Regions from separate parts of the Homo sapiens genome. Here region 1 is linked to region 2. Evidence: promoter capture Hi-C in 16 types of primary human blood cells and fetal thymus (Javierre and others, 2016). All regions are on one chromosome and are shown on one strand. The core of a region is centred on a gene start or on the middle of the fragment in contact, and the rest is flanking DNA. Distances in the headings are between cores, read along the strand shown. Region 1 overlaps ABHD15 (abhydrolase domain containing 15). Region 2 holds the start of NUFIP2 (nuclear FMR1 interacting protein 2).

Region 1 (5,624 bases), core at 191-2,690, 270 kb before region 2:
TCAATCTCTTGACCTCGTGATCCACCTGCCTCAGCCTCCCAAAGTTCTGGGATTACAGGCATGAGCCACCGCGCCTGGCCACTTTTATTATTTTATATTATTTTATTTTATTTTTTGAAATGGTCTCTCTGTGTCACCCAGGCTGGAATGCAATGGTGCAATCATAGCTCACTGCAGCCTTGACCTCCCAGGCTCAAGCAGTCCTCCCACCTCAGCCTCCTGAATAGCTGGGACTGAGCCACCATGCCAAGCTAATTTTTTTTTTTTTTTTTTTTAGAGATGGGTTTTCGCCCTGTTGCCCAGGCTGTTCTCAAACTCCTGGACTTAAGTGATCCACCCACCTCGTTGGCCTCCCAGAGTGTTTGGATTACAGGCGTGAGCCACCACAACCAGCCTTATCTGGTTTTAAATGATGGCCATGAAATTAAACGTTTTCGAAGCCCTAAATGGCCAAAGAAAGCCTCTGTGGACAGATCTGGCCTGCGGGCTGTCTGTCTGTCTCATCTGCTGTCACCTGATGTTCTCATTCTTCCCTCTCTTTCCCACCTTCCCCACTAAACACCTCGCTGCCAGGTATGCCACAGCCCTGGAGGACACTGTGGACACCAGCAGACTGTTCAGGAGCCGTTCCCTTCGAGAGTTTGAGGAGGCTCTCTTCTGCCACACCAAAAGCTTCCCCATCAGCTGGGATACCTACTGGGACCGCAACGACCCGCTCCGGGATGTCGATGAGGCAGCCGTGCCTGTGCTGTGTATCTGCAGTGCTGACGACCCCGTGTGTGGACCCCCAGACCACACTCTGACAACTGAACTCTTCCACAGCAACCCCTACTTCTTCCTCCTGCTCAGTCGCCACGGAGGCCACTGTGGCTTCCTGCGCCAGGAGCCCTTGCCAGCCTGGAGCCATGAGGTCATCTTGGAGTCCTTCCGGGCCTTGACTGAGTTCTTCCGAACGGAGGAGAGGATTAAAGGGCTGAGCAGGCACAGAGCTTCCTTCCTTGGGGGCCGTCGTCGTGGGGGAGCCTTGCAGAGGCGGGAAGTCTCTTCCTCTTCCAACCTGGAGGAGATCTTTAACTGGAAGCGATCATACACAAGGTGAAAGACCTGGCCTGAGAACCCCCAAGTCCTGCAAAGAAAAACAGAGCTGGGCAAGGGGGAGTCCTGGAAAGATGGGGCGGACTGAACAGAGGGAGCTCCAGCTCTGTGCTCCTCATTCAGTCCCTCTCTCTTAAATTGGTGCCTTGAAAGAGAAGGAACGTCCTGCGAGCCTGCACTCACTTCATCCTCAGCAGAACTCCTGCCTGGCCTCTGCTCAACATATCCCTACTCATCCGGTCAGCAGCGGCGCGTTCCAGTCACTGTCACCTGTCACTGACATCACAAGCCAAAGGATAGCACTTTTTCAATCCATGGACTCAGGAGAAAATGCCCTCTTACTGGCAGTGGCTAGAGGGATGAGACGTTTGTGTATGTCACTGGGCAGTGACCCCGATTCTCAAGCTGGAGCCATTTGATGTCATGAGGACAGGATGTTTGTGTCTCGGCCCCACTTCCCTCATTTGCTCTGTGGTTGTGGCGCCCTGCTTTGACCGAATGCTCTGGCAACTGCGGCAGCAGGCTTGTGTGTGTGAGAAGGGCGGCAGAGGCAGTGGGGCTGGCTCGCTGAGGGCTGAGCAGGTAGAGAATGTGAATGTCCATCTCAAGGAATGCGAAGTTCCAATCTCTCAGAGGAGCTCTGCAAGTCTCAGCTAGGAATGGGGCTGATCTGGCCCCCAAGCCTCACTGGAGAGATCCCAAGGGTATTTTACAAATAGGAAGCGCTCTCATGCAGGATCTGAGGGCTTTGCTAGACCATGGTTCAAGGAGTCAGAATCTTGGCTACCCTACATGCTCCCTCTGGCACCATTTCAGGGGATTACTCCAGAGAGCTGCAGCCAGAACTGTTTATCTCCTGAGATATGGACTTTCTCTAAGTCAGGAAAAGCACAAACCTCATAACTTAGGTGTTTTCTGGTTGGTTGCTCCCTTTTCTGATCCTACTACTGGCCTCTCCCTTTCCAGAGCCAGGAGACACATCTGGGACCAGAGGAAACAAAAGCACCAAGAGGTTGACTAGAGCTGACCAGTGATTTACAAATATTTCATATTCCAATGCTTCGTCTGCTCAATTATTCAAAAGGCCATCCCTGTAAAGGCAGAAAAGCTTCCTCTTAGATCTGGCCACTCAGCAAATAAGTGGGTATTTGGTTTTATGAAGAATAATGCTGAGGACTAGAGATATAGTATATCAGAGATAATATATAGTATACAGGTTGATCTAAATATTCTGGTTTGGATTAGGCAATTAAAATTTTTTTGGCAACAGGACATATGTTTCCATGTGTTGCTAAGATTCAAAAACTTTGCCCTGAAGTTTTATTTTAATCGTCATTGAGAAAGAGGGCTCCTGTTCTGACCTCAAAAACAGCAAAGCTGTTGTAAAGAAGAGAGCTGCTTATACGAAAACCCACATTCCAAGACTTGGTATAAGGTATTCCTGAGGCCTTGATTTCAGGTTTGGATAATCTTGCCCCAGATTCTAGATCTTGTTCTTCTAGATCAAATCAGAAGAAACTTTGAAATAACTCCAAGAATCTGCACTGAAATGTAGACAGCACTCGATAATCTAAGGGACATTATCTTGTTGTGAAAAATTATCTCCCTCCTGGCTGGGAGCGGTGGCACACACCTATAATCTCAGCACTTTGGGAGGCCGAGGTGGGTGGATCACGAGGTCAGGAGATCGAGACCATCCTGGCTAACACAGTGAAACCTCATCTCTACTAAAAATACAAAAAATTAGCCGGGCGTGGTAGCGGGTGCCTGTAATCCCAGTTACTCAGGAGGCTGAGGCAGGAGAATGGCGTGAACCCGGGAGGCGGAGCTTGCAGTGAGCTGAGATCGCACCACTGCACTCCAGCCTGGGCGACAGAGTAAGACTGTGTTTCAAAAAAAAAAAAGAAAAGAAAAATTATCTCCCTTCTCCCCACTTCTTGTTTCTCCTCCTCCATATTCCTCATCTGACGTTCTTTTGCCGTTTCTAAGCAGGATAAATAAAAAGGAACTGAAATTAAGCTGCTCTACTGCCGGTGAACAACAGCCTTGGTGTAAGCCTTGGTGAGGGAGATTTACTGCCATCTGGCCATCCGCTACCACCAGCTGCCCTCCACATCTGGTACAGTGAGGATTTCAGTTAATTAGGGTCCCGTAGTCCCAGTTGCCCTGCAAAATGGGAAGCAGCCTAGTGGTTTTTAAACCCTAAGGCTTAAAGAGTCCCTAAGGGTGAAAATCTGCATAGTTTCTCTAGAAACTATCCAGATAATGCAAGATTCTGGTTCTTCAAGAGAATAGCTTTTGGAGAAATAGTGGTTGGTTTTCCTTTCCCTTTTGATAGGAAAGAAAGTTTTCCAGGGAGAGAAATGTATAAACTTTGTAGTTACAGTCAGAAGAATGGCAGAATCAGCCCCAGTTCACGTTCCATTAATTCCTTTGAACCCTGAACTCTAGTGACCCGAACCCTAAAGTATTTCTCTTCCGTGGCCCTTGTGCCAGATGCACCCACTGCATATCCCAAGAACATTCTCTGATTTTCCCATTACTACTTGAAGACTAGGGCTGAAATGCCTGTTTTGTGCTGAGAAAGTGTAATTTCTGTTCAAGCAGGAAAGATTTGGATGGCCCTGTCCTTTAGCCTAATGATTCAAGAATCACACAGGTGAATTCTGCTTTGGTAAATAGCTAATTGTGTGAAGCCAGCTGGAGGAGCCCCAGGCACACTGTTCTGTGAATGGGTGGCCCTTGAACAAAATGGCAAGTTATGAGTTTGAGGAAGCAAGAAACAAACAACAAAACCAAACAATAGGCGGGGCACAGTGGCTCTCACCTGCAATACCAGCACTTTGAGAGACTGAGGTGGGAGGATCACTTGAGGCCAAGAGATCGAGACTAGTCTGGCCAACATAGCAAAACCCCATCTCTACAAAAAATTAAATTAGCTAGGCATGGTGGTGCACCCTGTAGTCCCAGCCACTCGGGAGACTGAGGCGGTAGCACTGCTTCAGCCCTGGAGGTCGAGACTTCAGTGAGCCCCTCCCGAACACCTAAGAACCACTGAGTTGGACTTTCCAGGTGGTGGGTCTTCAGTAATCTTCAGGCCTCATTACTTGCTTGCCTCCTTTTTGGTGTCCGTTATTTACCAACACCTTCAAATGGTAAGATAAAAAAATGAATACAAATAAGGAAACGAGCCAGGTGCAGTGACTCACTGCAAAGTGCAGTAATCCCAGCACTTTGGGAGGCCGAGGCAGGCAGATCATTTCAGTCCAGGAGTTCAGGACCAGCCTAGCCAACATGGTGAAATTCCATCTGAGTGTGGTGGCACACGCCTGTAGTCCCAGCTACTTGGGAGATTGAGGTGAGAGAATCGCATGAGCCTGGGAAGCAGAGGCTGCAGTGGACCGAGACTGCGCCACTGCACTCCATCCTGGGCAACAGAGCAAGACCCTGTCTCAAAATCATAATGAAAACAATAAAGCAAAAACAAAAAGCCAATGACTAAAGGGAGGCATTAATTCAGAAGTGGCAATTGAGTCCTCTGTCTCTAGCCATGGATCAGAATGCAGAAAGCAGACAACTGCTTCTGAAATTTTCTGTGAGTTCTAAGTTCTGATCTCTGATATCAAGATTGTGCTAAGCTATAACTTAATTCTCATAATTTAGTATTTTATGTATTTATACATAGATTTCCAGGGTGGCTTGGCTGGAGATGACAGTATGAAAAATACAGCACTAAATTCTCTGAGAAGACATCATCTCTGTTTTGAGTGACGATATCCTAAGACTTGGATACTGATAGAAAATAGGTCTTGGCCGGGCGCAGTGGCTCACGCCTGTAATTCCAACACTTTGGGAGGCCGAGCCGTGTGGATCACCTGAGGTTGGGAGTTCGAGACCAGCCTGACCACCATGGAGAAACCCCGTCTCTACTAAAAACACAAAATTAGCCAGGTGTGGTGGTGCATGCCTCTAATCCCAGCTACTTGGGAGGCTGAGGCAGGAGAATCACTTGAACTCGGGAGGTGGAGGTTTCGGTGAGCCAAGATTGCGCCATTGTACTCCAGCCTGGGCAAGAAGAGCAAAACTCCGTCTCAAAAAAAAGAAAAAAAGAAAGGAAATAAAGAGAAAGAAAAAGAAAGAAGAAAGAAAGAAGAAAGGAAAAAAAGAAGAAAGAAAGAAAAAGAAAGAAAGAAAAAGAAAGAAAGGAAGGAAGGAAGGAAAGAAAGAGAAAGAAAGAAAAAGAAAGAAGGGAAGGAAGGAAGGATGGAAGGAAGGAGGGAGGGAAGGAAGGAAGGAAGGAGGCCTTGGCCAGGCATGGTGGCTCACACCTGTAATCCTAGCACTTTGGGAGACTGAGGTGGGTGGATCGCTTGAGTCCAGGAGTTTGAGACCAGCCTGGGCAACGTGGTGAAAACCTGTCTCTACAAAAAATACAAAAATCAGCTGTGTATGGTGGTGCATGCCTGTAGGCCCAGCTACTAGAGAGACTGAGGTGGGAGAATCACTTGAGCCTAGGAAGTCAAGTCTGC
Region 2 (6,019 bases), core at 1,607-4,106:
TTTCTTACATTATATCATAAGCCTTTCTTCATACTACTGCATACTACTAAGGCAACATTCATAGTAACTAGAGCATCTGAGAATAAGATTTAGTTTATTAAACTCAGTCAGTACAACTGTAAGTGAAAAGCTAAAGGTAGGCAAAAGTGTGATAAATCAGAAATACAGAATGAGTGCTTTTGGTTTGCCTGCAGGTATAATGTAGAAAACCTAGACAGGGAAGTTGGAACTCAGAAATTCAAGCCTTCCAACTGAATGTCTAAGTCAACAAAAAATACCAACATAATCTTAAATTGTATATATACTTTTCTTTCTTTCTTCTTCTTTTTTTTTTTTTGAGACAGGATCTCGCTCTGTTGCCCAGACTGGAGTACAGTGGCACAATCACAGCTCACTGCAGCCTCCACCTGGAGGGCTCAAGTCATCCTCCCATCTCAGCCTCCCAACTACAGGCACACACCACCATGCCAGGCTAATTTTTAAAAATTTTTGTAGAGAGAGAGTCTCTGTATGTTGCCCAGGCTGGTCTCGAACTGCTGGGTCAACTGATCTGCCATGGTCTCCCAAAGCGTTGGGATTACAGGTGTGAGCCACCACACCTGACCTGTTTTTTCTTTAATAATTGGGAACGTGGCAGAATATTATTCAGTGGTAAAGACTTATTGTGATATGATATTATTATTAGGGTTTTCATTCTCAAAATTGGGTAAATGTACCCCCAAAGAGGTTTTTCTTTAAAATTTAGCAAAGCTGGCTGGGCCTGGTGGCTCATGAATCCCAGCACTTTGGAAGGCTGAGGTGGGCAGATCACCTGAGATCAGGAGTTCGAGACCAGCCTGGCCAACATGGAGAAACCCCATCTCTATTAAAAATACAAAATTAGCCTGGCACAGTGGCGCATGCCTGTAATCCCAGCTACTCAGGAGGCTGAGGCAGGAGAATTGCTTGAACCCAGGAGGCAGAGGTTGCGGTGGGCTGAGATCATGCCATTGCACTCCAGCCTGGGCAACAAGGACAAAACTCCATCTCAAAATAAAATAAAATAAAATTTAACAAGGCAACACAAATCCTTACTGTATAGAACATGCCAAAATTTGGTCATGGTTTTCAGGATTCAATGACATTTGTTATTGGAAACCAGCTTTTACGTTTTAAATAAGCTTTTGCATTGACATTCATTAATTTCATAGCATAAACTTTTTGCTTTCAAGCTTCTTGTTCCTTTAATGTTGTCCTGTTGTAGGAATTCAAGCCACATTTTAAAAATTCAAAAACGTAACATACATTGAGGAAACAGTCCATATGTCCGTTGCTGAGTGAATGAACAAAATGTGGTATATACATATAATGGAATATTAGTCAGCCTTAAAAAAGAGGGAAATTCTGATGTATGCTACTCTGAAGACATTATGCAAAAAAGCTAGTCACAAAAAGACAAATACAGTACAATCCCACTTATATGAGGTACCTAGAATAGTCAAGTTCGTAGAGACAGAAAACAGAACAGTGGTTATCAAGGGATGGAAGGAGGAGGGAAAGGACATTTATTTTTATTGGGTATGAAGTTTCAGTTTGGAATGATGAAAAAGTTCTGGAGATAGATGATGGTCATGGTTCTACAACAATACGAATGTACCTAATGCACCTGAACCATACACTTAATATTAAGATGGTAAATTTTATATTATGAATATTTTACAATTAAAAAAATCCCCCAATCTATAACATACATTGGGAAAAGTGCATTTTATCTGTATATTCAGTTTAACAAATAATTACTAAGCAAATATATGTAATCACCACCTAGCCCCCAAAATGAAATATTATCAGAGTAACCTGTGTCCCTCCCCATCACAACCCTCTTCCTTCCTGAGTAACCACTATCATGGCTCTAACATTTGCTTTTGAAAATCATATACTGTGATGTGGTAATGCAGGATAAGTTAAATCTACACTACAAAACGCTACAGAATATTTCTTTTAATTTCAATTTTTCCATAAGTGCCAAAAAAAAAAAAAACAAACCCACTTAATAACTTTTAAGTGCTCTTTCTCCCCTTCCTTTGCTCTTGAAACTTCTCATTCTAAAACCTATTTTGGTTCCACAGTTGACCTCACCTGCAGAGTTTAATTAAAAAAAAAAAAACCTTCAGTGTAAATTTTCATTCCTCCTGCTCTCCCTTGCCTCCAACTACAAAGAAACAATGATTTAAACCCTTTGTGCCCTTTTAGAAAATTACACAGATACCCCATTGTGGAACCCTATAATCCCTTCGTGGAAAGGAAGAGATTAGCATATGAATACAAAGCAAAATGAATCCAGAATACAAAATGATCTACTGGATTGTGAAGCTCTTGTATGCTTAAAAATGTATTTATTTCCTCTTTTTGTATTGCCCCTTTAGTGGTCTCGGGGTTAAGGGAATTGAGCTTCCCTTTCTGGTTACCCGGAAAAGGATTAAAAACAAAACAAAACAAAAAACAAAAAAACACCAGATTCTAAGAGGTGCAAAGCCAGCAGATGGCTCACAGCACCAGTGGAATCGCCAGTGGAATCTGCTACCCTCGACACGAGCCTGCTTGCCGGCGAGGAGTGTAGAAAGTGCTGTTCACAGACTGCGTGGTGAAGGAGAGAAAGCGACAGAAGAGAGAGCCATAGTGCTGACGTTGAAGGCCCGGCCCTGTGAGGTTGCACAGGGTAAGTGGCGTTGGCCAGGCGGCAGCGGCGAAGGGGAAGGAAAGAGGATTTGAGCTGGGGGCGGGGCTTGCGGCACAGCGTGGCTCCTGATTGTTGGAGTGCGGCTGCCAATCTCGCAGAATCGCTCGGTTAACCAGTGCGCTGGCGAGACGCGCTCAGATATACTGAGTGAGCCCTGAGAAGCAGTCTCAGATCCTGACGGTGCAGCAGCCCGCAGCCTCAGCCAGGGAGTCCCAGCCGCTTTCAATGGAGGAGAAGCCCGGCCAGCCACAGCCTCAGCACCATCACAGCCACCACCATCCGCACCATCACCCTCAGCAGCAGCAGCAGCAGCCGCACCACCACCACCATTATTATTTCTACAACCACAGCCACAACCACCACCACCACCATCATCACCAGCAGCCTCACCAATACCTGCAGCATGGAGCCGAGGGCAGCCCCAAGGCCCAGCCAAAGCCGCTGAAACATGAGCAGAAACACACCCTCCAGCAGCACCAGGAAACGCCGAAGAAGAAAACAGGTCTGGGAGGGAGGACGGGTGGGGGAAGGGGGTTGGGGGTGGAGGACAGGAGAGATGGGGGTGGGGCTGGATCCGAAAAGCGCGGACGGGGTCGGGGTGTGTGTGTGTGTGTCCCCTCCGGCTCTGGGGATGCCCCTTTCATTCTAGAGCTCGGGCTGAGCAATGGGGTTTGCAGCGCCCTCTCCTTCCCTCCAGCATGGGAGAGGCCCAGCCAGGCCAGCGTGACCTTCCTGGCCCCGGCCCCGGCTGAAGGGAGACCTGCTGGGTCGGCCTTGCAAGTCCAACCTCATTATTCTTTTCCCATTCACCTCCCTGCGTCCCTGGAGTTACCTCAATTTGGGGGCCCTGAGATGGGGTAAACCTACCCCCCCAAAAAATCCCTCGAGGTGTAACTCAGGAAGGCCTAGCGAATCCCGACTCGGATGGTGTCGCGAGACCCTTTTGCAGGCGGCGAGGAGTGGGTAGGTAGGGTGAGTTGAGGAAGTGCCCCTCACCCGCCACCCCAAGCCCACCTGTGGCCTTGGGGCTCCCCGTCTCGGTGGGGGGGGCTGTTGGGACCCCTCATCTCACGGGTCATTTCCACCACTAAACGCCCTTTTTGGGCGCCGGACCCCGCAGTCTTGTCCCGCGGCTCCTCCCGAGGCCGGCGCCCCGCGCCCGCTCCCCCCAGAGCCGGCGCGGCTGGAATGTTCTCTCCTCCTCGCGGGGCCGCTTCCTGTCCGCCATGTTGGAAGCCGATTCCTGTCACCGACTCCGGCCCACTGAGGAGCGGAGGGGGAAGGGTGTCGAGGGCCACACGGGGCGGCGGAGCCGGGTGACCCGGGATCACCACCGGCCGCAGCCTCGCCCCCTGCACTGCGGGGGCGCCGGCGCCCCCCGCACCGCGGCCGCCCCCCCCCCCGTCGCCGGCCGGGGTTGTGTAACCCGGTGGCGGCGCGCGGCCCCGGGCGGGTCCCTGGGGTGAGGGGCGGGGGCGGTTGGGGTGGGGGAGGGAAGCGGCCACGAGGGGAGCGGCCTGCGCAGGGCCCCGCGCGCCAGCGGCCGCGTTTCCCGCTCCCGGGTGCGGCGGGAGGCGCGGGCAGTCGGGGCGGGGAGCCGGCCTCGAAGCGGAGCTGAGAGGGAAGGAGGCCGCGGGCGGCGGCCGCGGCGCTCCTAGAGGCAGGAGGCCTGGGGGGGCGGCGGGGGGATTCATTTCGGGTAGAGGCGGTGCCTGAGGCCGGGTGGGGTACCCAGCGGGAACCCAGCTCCCCGGTCACGAGTTTCTCTGCCACAGGAACCTCGTCTCCTGCCAGGTTCGCTCACGACTCCGCCTCTGAGGCTTTCACTTGGGCCTTTTCCTTCTAGCAGCTCATTTTCTACAAAAAAAAAAAAAAAATCCAAAAACCTTGTTCCATTCCCCTCCCGACCCAGCACTTACCTTCTGAGCTTGGGTAGTGTCTTTGAGGTGAGGGATTTTAAAAAATGTTAGGATGGGGAAGAGTGCGAGCTTTTTGACCCCTCTTTCTTGTCCTTAAGGGTGAACCCAAGTGGCTCATCCATGAGGTTAGACTACTACCATCTTGCCTCGGATGAGGCTTCTCTCCGTGTTAAAAAGAAAGGTGTTTTTCGTATTTTAAAATCGATATTGATCCCCAAACTAATCTTAATAAACGAGAAATTGAGGGTAAAAGTCATGTAAGAAAGTATTTCACGAGAAGTGAGTTTAATAGTTTATAACCCACGCAGATTTTAAAAAATAAGGGCTCTTTATAAATCGAAGAGAAATGAAGCGTAAGAAAGCGTATGTTAAACCCAGCGTATCAAATTTGATAGAAGGAATTGTTGAGAGCTGGAGAAATACTAAGTGCTTTTTTATTGCAGATTGTAACTTGAAGACTGAAATTAGAATGTCAGATTTTCCATTTTGGGACTTCGTAGGGACCCGATAGTATGCAATAGAAGTGAACACATACGCACGAGTTAGGTGTTTTAATCCTAAAGATTTGGAACAGTTTAAAAACTGTTAGGGACTATATAACTAGATTTTTTAGCATTAGATCTTGTTCAAAAGATGAGAAAATACTACCATATTATGGCTGCATAAGGCAATATTACTGTTGAGATTGAAAAATTGTATCTCATCGGTCAGGTTAATATACTCTTGCCAGACTTCTCTCTACATGTGGAAGCAACCGCTGAACCATTCAAGGTGGTATTCCTCCAAATATTTCTTGTCTTGGAAGGGGTGGATAAAGAGGAGGAAACTGGAATTAGCAGTTTTGACAGAATGTAAACAGTTTGGGGCGAGTGTATGATTTGGTCACAGTACTGTTGCTTTGACATGCATAATGCTAATAACTAAGAAAACATTACAATATTTTTGAAATTTATCTGTAACATGTTGAGGTAGGCTTTGGTAATCCATTGCTCACAAACCTAAAGAGGAACAGTTTTTTTTAATCCAGAAGAGGGCGCAAGAGAAGGCCAAATGTGTTGAGTAATTTGTTTCTAATTGAAAAGCTAGATGTATCAGGACTCAAGTTTTGCTGAGTCTTTTGGAAGTAGGGTTAGTATAAGCAGCCCTAAATAAAGCGCTAGGAATCCTTTAATTTCTTAAATTTATTCTATAATGTTTACATTTTTCTTAAATATCTACTATTTAAAAAGAAAATTTCTTTCCAGCATACTTCATACATATCACAAGGTTGTCATGAGAAAAACTTTATGTAGTTAAACAAGATTTTCTTTTCTTTTTTTTTTTTTTTTTTGTTATTAAAACTTGCGGGCGGGAGCACAGTGGCTTCTAAGCCGTTTTTTCA

The links. The method cuts DNA at HindIII sites, captures the fragments that hold promoters and counts their contacts. A CHiCAGO score of 5 or more calls a contact.
Region 1: a contact is called between a fragment that was not itself captured here and the fragment with the promoter of NUFIP2 in region 2, in 3 of 17 cell types (megakaryocytes, M0 macrophages and endothelial precursors). The highest score is 7.1, in megakaryocytes.

Annotation. Positions count from the first base shown.
Region 1 is chr17:29,558,036-29,563,659 of GRCh38, reverse strand. It overlaps ABHD15 (abhydrolase domain containing 15), which reads left to right. Exons shown (of 2, transcript NM_198147.3): 2 at 574-3,113. The coding sequence ends at 1,099. Among named protein-coding and RNA genes, the nearest start is that of ABHD15, 6.2 kb to the left of the region's middle. The HindIII fragment of the contact is 1,531 bases long and covers 675-2,205 here.
Region 2 is chr17:29,290,985-29,297,003 of GRCh38, reverse strand. NUFIP2 (nuclear FMR1 interacting protein 2) reads left to right here and starts at 2,856. Exons shown (of 4, transcript NM_020772.3): 1 at 2,856-3,221. The coding sequence starts at 2,945. RefSeq lists enhancers at 2,488-2,687, 2,998-3,097, 2,791-3,551 and silencers at 3,258-3,377, 4,008-4,187. The HindIII fragment of the contact is 5,437 bases long and covers 1,214-6,019 here.